Regions from separate parts of the Homo sapiens genome. Here regions 1 and 3 are each linked to region 2. Evidence: promoter capture Hi-C in 16 types of primary human blood cells and fetal thymus (Javierre and others, 2016). All regions are on one chromosome and are shown on one strand. The core of a region is centred on a gene start or on the middle of the fragment in contact, and the rest is flanking DNA. Distances in the headings are between cores, read along the strand shown.

The links. Contacts are between HindIII fragments. The CHiCAGO score rates a contact against its expected background, and 5 or more counts as called.
Region 1: a contact is called between a fragment that was not itself captured here and the fragment with the promoter of YAF2 in region 2, in 2 of 17 cell types (non-activated CD4 T cells and activated CD4 T cells). The highest score is 6.0, in non-activated CD4 T cells.
Region 3: a fragment that was not itself captured here is called in contact with the fragment with the promoter of YAF2 in region 2 in 1 of 17 cell types (naive B cells); the score reaches 5.4 in naive B cells.

Annotation. Positions count from the first base shown.
Region 1 is chr12:42,402,031-42,405,912 of GRCh38, reverse strand. The region is part of intron 9 of PPHLN1 (periphilin 1); the gene reads right to left. Among named protein-coding and RNA genes, the nearest start is that of PPHLN1, 78 kb to the right of the region's middle. The HindIII fragment of the contact is 221 bases long and covers 2,097-2,317 here.
Region 2 is chr12:42,235,469-42,239,608 of GRCh38, reverse strand. YAF2 (YY1 associated factor 2) reads left to right here and starts at 1,361. Exons shown (of 4, transcript NM_005748.6): 1 at 1,361-1,454; 2 at 1,885-2,010. The coding sequence starts at 1,429. It overlaps LOC124902920 (a long non-coding RNA gene), which reads right to left and starts at 1,164. Exons shown (of 2, transcript XR_007063279.1): 1 at 882-1,164; 2 at 331-472. RefSeq lists silencers at 616-755, 946-1,185, 1,236-1,615, 1,716-1,785, 1,906-2,235 and an enhancer at 1,569-2,070. The HindIII fragment of the contact is 7,822 bases long and covers 1-2,685 here.
Region 3 is chr12:42,481,071-42,484,950 of GRCh38, reverse strand. All of the region lies in intron 1 of PRICKLE1 (prickle planar cell polarity protein 1), which reads left to right. Among named protein-coding and RNA genes, the nearest start is that of PRICKLE1, 110 kb to the left of the region's middle. RefSeq lists enhancers at 104-1,012, 1,729-1,848, 3,063-3,674 and silencers at 1,199-1,458, 1,529-1,578, 1,969-2,038. The HindIII fragment of the contact is 4,922 bases long and covers 1-3,880 here.

The DNA.
Region 1 (3,882 bases), core at 958-3,457, 170 kb before region 2:
TTCTGAACACTCTTCTTTCTGTATTACATACATCACTAAAAGTGATTTTAAAAAAAAAGCAAAACATAATAACAAACATAGCAGAGTTTAGCATGGCTAACTTCAGCCAACTGGAAAATTAAATTACACTGAACTGCTCACTTTTCCCCCAAGTTCCAGTAATTGAGGGATTAAAAATCTTAAGATTTGGCTTTCAGGCAGACCAAAAAACCCCTACAAATATTCCCCCAGCTAACTCATGTAAATAAGTATTCAAAACAGAAATAACATATATTGCATTGTCTGATTTCCTATAATGGTTTTCTTTTTAAAACCCCAAAAACATAAAAAATGCAAAAAGAAAGAGGAAGAGTAAGGAAAGAAAAACAACGAAAGATAACATAATTAGCTCCCAATAAACCAGACATTAGACAATCATCAATTCACTTCTAGTGTTTACTTTCAAGTTACCTTTAAGTAAAACATGAGATTTTCTTAGTGCAGCTTTTAAAATGTTTCTTATAAATGGACTGAGAATATCAATTAACTCACACTGTAATTGTAGTCAGCACTCAAGTGCATATAAAACATACACATTTGTTCTCTCCTGGCACAATACCTGAATTAAACAATAGTTAAGAGAGGACAGCAGATGTTTCAAGACAGATCACATCTTAAAAATGAGAGATGACAGATGAAGGGGAAAGTATGAGAACAACTTATGCTTTAGGAAAAGGACGGTAGAGAATTCTAAGGAGGAAACATTAATCTTTTTATGCTATGTGTATACAAGCAAAACAGATAAGGAACACTGAGATAAAAAGAGCAAGCCAAATGAAAAATGTGAAAGCAAAATCACAAAGTCCCCCAAAATAAGCAAAAAAAATTTATTTTATTTTTATTTTTTTAGACGGAGTCTCACTCTGTCACCCAGGCTAGAGTGCAATGGCATGATCTTGGCTCACTGCAACCTCTGTCTCCTGGGTTCAAGCGATTCTCCTGCCTCAGCCTCCTGAGTAGCTGGGATTACAGGCATGGGCCACCACGCCCGGCTAATTTTGTATTTTTAGTAGAGACAGGGTTTCACCATGTTGGTGAGGCTGGTCTTGAACTCCTGACCTTGTGATCCGCCTGCTTCAGCCTCCCAAAGTGCTGGGATTACAGGTGTGAGCCACCATACCCGGCTGCAAAACAAATATTTTTTAATAGTATTTTTACATTTCATTTTGAACAAATTAGGAAGGAGGTGGGGAAAAGGAAATAAACAACAACAAAACAAAAGAAGTGAAGAGGTAAGAGGCAAATAGTCGAAACCTTGACACTGACCAGAAAATCACCTTTCAGAGGTAAACCTATATCACAAACTTGCTATGAAATATTTTTGTTGTTGTTGTTGTTGTTGTTGAGACGGAGTTTTGCTCTTGTTGCCCAGGCTGGAGTGCAAGGGCGCAATCTCGGCTCACTGCAACCTCTGCCTCCCAGGTTCAAGTGATTCTCTTGCCTCAGCCTCCTAAGTAGCGAGGATTATAGGCACCCACCACCATGTTGGGCTAATTTTTGTATTTTTAGTAGAGATGGTGTTTCACTATGTTGGCCAGCCTGGTCTCGAACTCCTGGCCTCAAGTGATCCACCCGCCTGGGCCCCCCAAAGTGCTGGGATTACAGGCGTGAGCCACTGTGCCCAGCCTAAAATATTCTTAAGAAGTAATTTGAAAGTAATCAATATTGCAAAGCTGCAAAGAAACAGGCAGAAAGTATTACTTAACACTACCATTAACCACCTGTATGGTAATTTTCATACATAAACGGCTTTCACATATAATAGGTTGTCAATTCTGTGAGAGAACTTATAATTAGAGAATGCAGTGAGACCTCGTTTCAAAAAAAAGAAAAAAAAAAAAGAGGAAAAGGTCTCTAAGATGTGAAAACACTAAGTGTTCATTATACCATGCCATTTATAAATGTCCTTACCATAAAATACTCAGAGACTAAAAAAAATTGTTGACCTAAGAAAACAAAATTGAGTAGCATGGGACAGTAATTTGGAACCACTAGGTAAAATCCTTACCTAACACTGGTAGAGAGTGGATGAGGAGAAGAGGTAAGAAAATGAAGCTTATACTTGGGTTTATGCCATGGGGATTACCTTTACTGGAACTGCTTTATAACTGGGTATTTTTTGTTTCAGTGGTAACATCCCCAAGGATAAGGTGCAAGATGGCCTCATCCCTTAAGGTACTCATATCATTTTAAGTATGGTTCTAATAAGACTTGGTATCTGTACTATCTAGATTTTATATTTGATGTAAATATAACATCTTAACAGATTCATCAAGCTTCCCACTTAAAGAGATATCAGGTACAAAATAACTAAATTACCTTTAAGAGATGCTTCCTTTTAAATATGATACAAATTATCTTATAGAGATAGCTTTTAGATTCTCTTAAAATAAAAACTTTATACTTTTACTTCAACAAGCTTCTGCAGTAACAGCATGACCAGAATCTGGTAAATTGTAACTTTCAAACTCTTTGAAATTTGGTCAAAATAAATCATCTCTTTTCAAGTTGTTTTGGGAATCCAGACTTTCAGAGGTACATCTTATGTGAGTATATTTTACTAACTGTATGTATGTAAAATCTGAACAAGTGGTTGGTAATAATGGATTGTTAAATACAGTAGGGTAGACTTGATGTCTAGACAAGATAGTGGTGAGAGCTGCACTTTAAAGAACATTGGTTACTTGCTCTGATAAAAAGGAAAAACAAAGAATGTTTCTATTATGTAAGGTTACTATGAAATGCTTAGATCTTGAACCTACAACAATAGATACAGCTGCCACTACTTTGAAAACAATTTCATTGGAATGCATCATATGCTAAAAGCTGATTATTTTCCATGTCCACAACTCTAGTTAACATTTTCAAGACTGTACATTTCACTAATCTTTACTTCTAGCCTCTTTAAATGTAAAACAAAAACAGATTATATATGAGAAACAGCAAGAGCTAGTGAGTGTTGGGAATCATCAGACAATGAGTAGTAGCTGAAATGAGACACTGTAAGAAGAGAAAATGGCCACAGCTACAACACTTACAATTAAATCTAACACCCTATCTACGGAAGAAAACCTGCTCTGCACAATTCATTAACTCAACAAATACTAATTACTGACTGACACATAACAGTGGTATATTCGAAGGTTATTTAAAAACTTATTTTAATTTAAGAGCCCTGTGTCCTTAAGAAGGTTTAAAAAAAAAACTTAAAATTCTATAGTTAAATATGAAATTACTACACACAACTGTGTACAGAAAAAGTAATATTTAACTTTTAATTTTCAGTATGATTTAGATCAGGAAGAGACCTAAGATTATTCAGCCCAACCCTTTTATTTGGAGGGAAAAGCGAAGAAAAGCTAGTAAAGTAGCCCATATAGTCGCACAAATGGTGATAGTACGGAATTCAAAATAAAAAATATATTAAGTAGATTTAGACTTACAACAGACTCTTAATAAAGCTAATAACAATCAACAAAATAAAGTCTGAATTAACTCAATTTTTCTTAGCTAATTGTAATAAGGAAAGGGGTTCCTAAATGGCTAAGAAGTAAAGTTTCACATAACAAAGCTGGCATAGCTATGACTATAATAAAAATTGTCTTTACAGAAACAAAAAATATTCAGGATAAGTGTTTTGAAGTTAAAAGAAAGAAAAGAACACCAAAATAATCAATCCCTTTCCCCAAGTGTCCCTGATTACTCTATTTCTTTATGTTTAAGAACCTCAGAATGGGCCGGGTGCGGTGGCTTACGCCTGTAATAGGTGGGTAGATCTCTCGAGCCCAGAAGTTGGCGACCAACATGGGTAACAAGGTGAAATCCCATCTCTACAAAAAATAC
Region 2 (4,140 bases), core at 112-2,611:
GAAGCAGGCTGAGAATCCTGGGCTTCTGACTGTATTATTTCCTATGTAGTTTAGCTATAAAATTATTTTACATGAATTCGGACTTGATGTAAACCTAGAAAGATGGACAGAAACAGCACAGTTAAAGAGGGATATACTTTATGCAGAAGTAACCCATGTGCATGAAGGAAGGGTTCTGGTAAGGGAATGAATTTCATCTGCACTCTTTGTCAGGAGGCAGCTTTCCTTATGGGAGAGGGAGGCAGAGGTAGGGAAAATGTGTGAAGCCTTTGAATGCCAGGCTAAGGAGTGTGGGCAAGTCGTTAGTGGTTCTTTATCAGAGTGGTGGCATAGTATTAACAGCATTTTATTATTAATCTGGTTGTGGATTACTGAATACATTGGGGAGGTAGAAGTGGAGCTTCGGAGACCAGTTAGATGGCTGTTGCTGGAGTCTGGAGTATGAGGACCTTTAGTATGTTGACGTAGAGACCTGGGAAGGTGTTCTTTTGTTAGCAGACAGCGTTGAGGGGACATGCAAACTCCTTATATTTAAAAAGGACTTATGAGTATATAGGGGTTTCTTTCAAAAGCAGCTACTGCAGAGGCCTGAGAGGCCAAAAGGGCGCGTTTGGAATTAAAACAGAGTTAGACTCTTGGCTTTGTCATTTTCTAATTATATAGCCTAGAGGAAGTCACCTAATCTCTCTTGAGTCTTGATTTCAATTCCTCTAAGTTAGGGTTGACAATCCCTACTTGTTAGAGCATCTGTGTGCATAAACCAGACAGTGCTTTAAGGCATGTAGCAATGGCGCTGCGTGTTGGTTCCCGCCTTCCCCCCGGTATACTGCAGGCGGGGGCTGGGTAGCTAAGGACAGCGGAGGCCAGGAAAGTCGTTCTACCTGGAGATCCCGGGCTGGCACTTCTGTCCAGACCTGGACAGGCCTCCGAACGCCGGCCGGCCCTACCTTGGACCAGGCTTCGCACGGGATGACGGAGCATCCCCTGCCAGTCGGTGGGACAGACGTTTTCCTCCTCAGAGGGGCTCTGGAGCGCGAGGCAGTCCCCGGCAGCCGGGGGTACCAAGGGGGCAACGGGGGAACAGCGCGGAGAGGCGGCGCCGGCGCCCGAGGCAGCCGCGGCCACCGCGGCCACCCCCGCACCGCCCGCCGGCTAACTCGCCGCGGGTGCTGGGCCGCGCTGGCCGCGTTTGAAGTCTCCGGCGCGGCTGCTGGTTGGCCGGCGAGGGTCACGTGCGCCCAGGCAGGAGTTTCCCCGACAGCTGGAGGCTGCGTGGGATCCGGCGGCGGCTCCCGAGCGCGGCGGTGCGGCCTTCCCCGCCCCCTCCCTCCCTCCTCCCCCGCCCGCTTCCGCCCGGCTTATTATCCTCCTTATTGACAAACAGAGCGGTCGCGGCGGCGACTCTCGGCGTGCGGTGATAGCCAAGCCATGGGAGACAAGAAGAGCCCCACCAGGTAACAGCGCCCGGGCCCCGGGGCCCGGACTGTGCGGGCGGCAGGGCCCTCGTGCAGGGCTTCGGGTGGCCGCCTCGCTAGCCGCCCGGGCACCGGGGCGAGCACGGGGGCAGCGCCGCTGGTGTGCGAGTGCTGCCGCTTGAGGGGGCCGGCGCCGGCCGCCCCACAATGGAGCCGCGATGGCGGCGGCGACCGGAGCGGCCGCCCGGGTGTCAGAGCGGCTGTGGCGGCGGCGACTGCGGCCGCGCTCGCGCCCTGCCTCTTCCTGACTCCCTTCCCCCTCAGCCGGAGCGCGGCGCGCCGAGGGCCCGCGGGGCGGGGGTCGCAGAATTGGGGCGGGGGGCGGGGCGGGGGCGGCCGCGGGGCCCGGGCACCGGGCGCGGCCTGCTGGTGACCCCGCGCCGCGTCGTGTCCGGGTTGTGTCCTGCAGGCCGAAGCGGCAGCCGAAGCCGTCCTCGGATGAGGGTTACTGGGACTGTAGCGTCTGCACCTTCCGGAACAGCGCCGAGGCCTTCAAGTGCATGATGTGCGATGTGCGGAAGGGCACCTCCACCCGGTGAGTCCCGGGCCTGCCCCTCGCGCCGCCGGCCGGCGGGGTGGCGACCAGAGGACGCCCTTGCGGCTGCCGCCCCCTCCCATGACACTGGCGGACCCGGCGGGAGGAGGCAGACGGAGGTGGCTGTGGCGATAGGAACTGGGTCACATTGATCGCAACCCAGGCGATGGTTTGCGGTGAGGGGTAATTGAAGAGGCTGTAACGTTTTTTGCTGCCAAGAGAGAATAAATTATTTAAGGGAGGCATTAGCTACTGCGATTTAATTCGTATCGCTGGGTGTAATGCCCCTCTCCCCATTCTGGGTATAAAAATGTTGGCTGCATTGTTGTGTTAGTGTGTGGGGATCAAGGAAAACCCATAAAATCTCTTTAGGAGCAAAGGATGTAATTTAATTTCGTTCCTAAAGAAAGAAAAGTATCTGATTGCAGAATACACAATATATTAAAACTTATTTTTCTACATGTACTTCTGGAAGGGTCAGATCAAGGTTTTATTTAGTGTTTTTATTCCAGTACTCTAATATTTTATAAATAAGTAGTTGGAGATGAGCCCAGTCACAGGAACAGATTTTTACTGAAAGTACCTTTATATCTTTAGTTTGATTAAATGGCAGTCTCTTAGACAAATGAGATGAAAAGATCTCTGCCTATTTTCAGACTTTATTTATTGTAAGCTTGCAGTATAATAACTCTGTCTTTTAAAAAATGACTTTGAATTAAGTGAATAAAGAAAATCATCCAGGAAATTCAGTCAGTGGCATTCTTAATCTGTCAGCACTTAGTTATCGAGCTCCTTGATTCTTATACGAAGGTACCCTTTGAATTAAATATAATCCTGTGATTTATTACTTAATATTTAGAGAAGATATGTATTTTGATATTACAAAGTCCATTAGAAACTAAACTATAACAATAAGCATACTAATCTTACTGTTGCTTTAAAAAAGAAGGCACATGTAATATTGACATATACAAATATTCAGTAGACGTTAGATTTCTAAAAAATGAGATCTTGATTTTTTAAAAAACACTTTACAGAATTTTATTAAGTTTAAAATTTAGAGACAGGAATGGTTGACAGTAACTTATCTGAAAAATTTCTCAGTGAAGCTCGCTGGTTTTGACATGCTTGTTTTTTGTAAATCATCATATGCTTTTTGTATATTCCCACAATTGATAAAATATTTCGTACATTTTTCATATTCAAAAAGCAAACTTTCAAACGTATGCTAAATTTAAGGGATTACAACAGAACATTCCAAAAAGAAAAAAAGTATTTGCTAAAATGATTGTGGTTACTATTTTTGGACCCGTGATTTGTGATTTAAGTATTTTGAAAAGCAGAGTATCTTCTTGGCTGTGTAAGGTTGGAGTTGGTTTAGAGTATATTTGTGTATCTGTGTTAGTACTTTGTGCTTTTTAAAATGCTCAATAAGCAATTTTTAGAAAATTCGTTTTTTGGAGGCAGGAACATTAAAGTGGAAACAATTATAATCTTGATCTCTGGTACTATATATTATTGCTTTTTGTTGTTCCCTCTCTATTTTCTTGTAGCCATTAGAAAAATACTGAAACTAGAAGAGCCTATATGTTTATTTGCAGGGACAGCAAGGAAGGGGGGAAGCTGGTGTCCTACTCCACAGCCAGTCTTGGGGTTAGAGGAACCCTGAGAAATAGAGTAGGTGGTGGCAGCTCAGAAGAGAAGAAACAGGCTGAATACCTGGCACCTGGAAGAAGAAGGAATATAGTACACAGGGGAGTTGGCCCAGGACAGAGAAGTGGGCCTAGTTTAAAAGAGGCTTGAGGCCCACATGGGGGCCCCTGACATTTTTTTTTTTTACCAGTACATCTAAGCTCTTGTAGATCCAATTTTTAGTGGTGGAAACATTACTTGAGGAGGACTCAGAGAAGCATTGTCATTTGGATTGAAACTGAAGAGGCTCTGGGCAACTCACCAGAAATCTAAGGGACACTGTGTTCCTGAAAGTAAGTGTTCTACACCACGACCCTCTCAGCTTCTTCCTTCCTCTCTCTGAATTCTCTTCTCTTTTGATTTTGGCTCTAAGTTAAACCTAAGAGCTCTAATTTCTCTGTTATCTGTTATTTTCCTAGTGGTTTCTGAAATTCAGGG
Region 3 (3,880 bases), core at 238-2,737, 250 kb before region 2:
TATTGCATTTTCCCCTTCATTCTCTTGGTATTTCTATCACCTTGTGATAAGGAGGCTATAGTGGAAACTAAAATTTGTAGTTCAGAAGAGATTAGACCTCTACTGATGAGTACTAATCTATCATTTTTTTTCTGGGCTTGCTTTGAGGATATGTTTTGCTTCTCTTGACCCTTTCTGTAGACAACTGAAGCCAAACTCCACTTTCTCTCAGTGTACCTACAAATAGCTCAGAAACAAGATTAGCTTCAGTATGGGACACTTCCTTGTGTTTGAATAATGATATTCACTTAACCTATTTGTAAAAACTCTCAGTAGTGTACTTGAGTTAGTACATCGCGTGACCTGGCTCCTTTTCTTTGCTGTTATTTACTGATAAAAATAAATCTCCTGCGCTAAGCAGTAGGAATCACTCCGAAATGCAGGGAAAGTCCTAAGAGAATTCATATGCTAATGAGCCCTTCTAAGTGAGAACTTGCTTAAATGTGCCATTTGCTGACATCATTGTTATGGGCAGAGTGGAGATGATTTCTTTAAGAGGTGGCCTTTCATATTCTCCCAGCGTTTCGTGGCCCGCGCGTGCACCTGCGGGAGGGGGAAGTTTACATAAGCGTCCTAGGGTATTTGCATCTTAGCGGCTTCACTCACTGGGCTCGGGAGAATGGAGCGGGCGGGCGGCGGTAGGTGCTCGAGCCGCTAGGCTGGCCAAGGGGGTGGGTAACTTTTCGAGGAATTGTGCGCGCGGGACCTCGTGGAGATCGGCCAGGGGCACGGTCAGCAGTGACAGTTCCTGGAAAGCGGGCGGCGGCGGGAGCAGGCTGGGCAGGCGCCGCCCGCGGGCGGGAGCGGGGAGCTGGGTCCGGCTGGGATCGAAGGGCGGGATCGGCAGGAAACGAAATGGTTACTTTTTTTTTTTTTTTTTTTTTTTTTTTTTTTTTTTTTACTGCGGGCTCTGATTACTTTTGAAGATCGCCGGCCCCAGGCGGGCTCCCGGCGCTGAGCGGAGACGAGTTTTTCTCCCCGCAGAGGAGGATCCTGGAAGGACGCGGAGCTGGGGCTTGGGGGATGCAGTGGCCTGGACGAGGTGACTCCAACCCGGGGGAGCAGAGTCCGTCACGCCGGCAGGGACCGAGGGTCTCTGCGGAGCTGGAGGACCTTTTGTGGGATGCCTCACGGCTGCTGAGGGGCTGCAGCGGGTGAGGATCGCCGCGCTGCGCCGCCAGGGAGCTCGGCGGGGACCGGCCGGGGGGGAAAGTGCGTCACGGCGGGGCGGGGGCGACCCCTCGCCCGCCAGGCGGGGCCAGCACCGGGACGCGACCCGGGGGCGCGGTCCGCTGCAATGTAGTGGGGACCCGGTGCTTGCTGCCCCACCCTGCTGGGGTCTCCTCCGGAAATGAGTGGGTGCGGGTGACTCGTAGGGCACCCAGCCCTCTGTTCCTTCGGGAGTCCTCCGCTCCCGCTCCGGGCCGCCAGCCTCCTTCAGACGCAGAGCGGGCGGGCGGCTAGTGCGCGCCGAGGGCTCAGGGGCCGGCGCCGCGAGGGGCTGCAGGCCGCGCTCGGCCGCTGTCCGGGCCGCAGGTGGGAGCCGCTGTCTGGGTCCCAGGGCTGGATGGCAGCCGGCGGCGGGGACTGAACGCGGGAGGGCTGCAGGGTGCGCGCCGGCGAGGGGCTTCTCGTTGGAAGCTGAGGGACAGACGTGGGGACCCGTGGCTGCTCGGCCCCACCGTCCAGCCGCAGGGCGAGTGCTGCTCCGTGGAGGTGACACGGCGCCAAGAGCGGCGCGAGGCTTTCTGCTGGAGGAGGGTAACGGGGAATTCGAAGGCGACTGTTCTATGCTGGAGGACAAGGGGCACTGTTCTCTCGGGGCTTCGCGTCGGCGCCGAGGAGGGGTTCGCTCGCTGCCTCTGCGTCCTGAGCTCGGCCTCTGGCTCCTGGGGCCGGGGACGCAGAGAGGGGCTGGAGCCGGTCGACCCACGGCCCAGGGCGCCCCCTCGCGGCCTAAGCAGCGGCCGCCGCCTGGAGCGCAGAGTTTGCGGGGCCCAGGGGGCGCCGACGCCCGCTCTGAGGCGTCTCTGCTGCTGCGGCGGCGGGGATGGGGACGACCCAGGGGACCCCCTGCAGCCATCACTGGCAGCCCCATCAAGAATTGGCCGGCTGAGTTTTCCCAAAGTACGGTGACATCCTTTCCTTCTCGCTTCCTCCAGCCCCATTTTTAAAAGCTCGGCCTTTCCCGTTAGTCTGTGTCCTTATAAGCCAGGCTATGTGTGGAATTTGTTTTTACAACTCGAGTCTTGTGACTTCTCAAACACTTTCTTGAAGTGTTTTCTCTGGAAACTTGTTTCAAATGGGTGCTGTAAGTTTCACAAAGAGGAGTGTTGTTCAGGAGCCAACAGGTGACGGGGCGAAACCTGAGTCTGTGTGTACATTGGAGTCAAGTCTGGCTGCCGTTTCCTCGGGCCACTGTTGAAAATAGAAATCCAAAAAATCAATAGAAGACTGAGGAGAACACGATTTTGAGAAAATATCTGCATCCCCCATTATGGAAAATAATGGGCTCATTAGAGCACCGCCTTGTGTGGTGCCCCTCATTCCATGGCATGCATTTTGGATTTTGTCTTTACATACTCGTGTGCGGATAATCTGACCCTAGAAGCGCCGCGCTGGCGGAGGACCAGGCTTTGTCGTCATGTTTCCTCCTTTTGTTTCTTACTGTCATGGAATGTACTTGTGCATGAAATTAGAATGCTTTGAAAGAGTTCCACATTTCCTCTTGGAAAAATGGATAGTTTCTTGACCATTGGGTGATGTGTGATAGCCCACTCAGCTGTTGGGAAATGTACAAGCTGGATGGAGGTTTACCTCGAAAATGCTGGACGGAGGTTTACCTGGAAAATACAGAAAATACTAAAGGGCATATGGCCTAATGCCACTAATTGCTCGTATGGAAAACTTAGTAAAGGAATGTTTCATAAACAATATCTCCTGATAACTTCATTATGTTTTTATTTTTCAAATAAGTGAAATTGAATTGGGCTTTGTTGGCAGTGACTTTGTCTTTAGTAGACAGTAAGCACTGAATGCCCCTTGAGTGTGTGAAACCTTTAAAGAAATGACAGTTTAGTGTCTCTTTTACTGGAAAATTCACATCTCGATTGAAGTTAAGGACATCCTAAACAAGGAAATGTGTATATCCATAAGGGTGGTATATTTTGTATTGTGAAAAGAATGGATGTGTGACATGTTTCTGTACTGCTAAATTAGTCTGTAGTTAAATTTAATTCACCTGCATATGTAGTCTGGGAGAATTGGAGTAGCTTTTGAATGGAGAACCTGTGATCTGCATCTTCCATGCACTAAGGCCTTGTTAACAAGCAGTTTAACAAAGAAGCTGTTAAGCAGTTTGTAGCCCACGGATGGCACTTAGCAGCAGGGGACACCTAGGGAATGTTGGCCTAACTGACTTCACAAATCAGTATCTGTTCTGGCTTTTGGTGATCAGAGGATTTCTAACTTCCCTGGGCATGTTCACACAAGAAATACTTTTTCATAGGGATCTTACAATGCCATGGTAGTCTTCATATAGGAACTAGAGTGGGATTGCATTGGAGAAAAAAATGTAATTAGGGATATGACCTTATACTTCATTTTCAATGGCAGGCCCTGACAATTACTGTTTTCTATTTGCATGATTTTGATTTGGTGACTTGGTTCAAGAAAATTATGAATAATAGGAATCATACCAGACCTGATATACAGTTACAACCTCAATATGTATCTGATTAAACTCATTCTCCTGAAATCCCTCAAATCCTCACTCCCCTTCTGAGTTGCCCTAAGGTACTTATGTATTGGTATGTCAATCACCTAATACTCAAAACTGTCT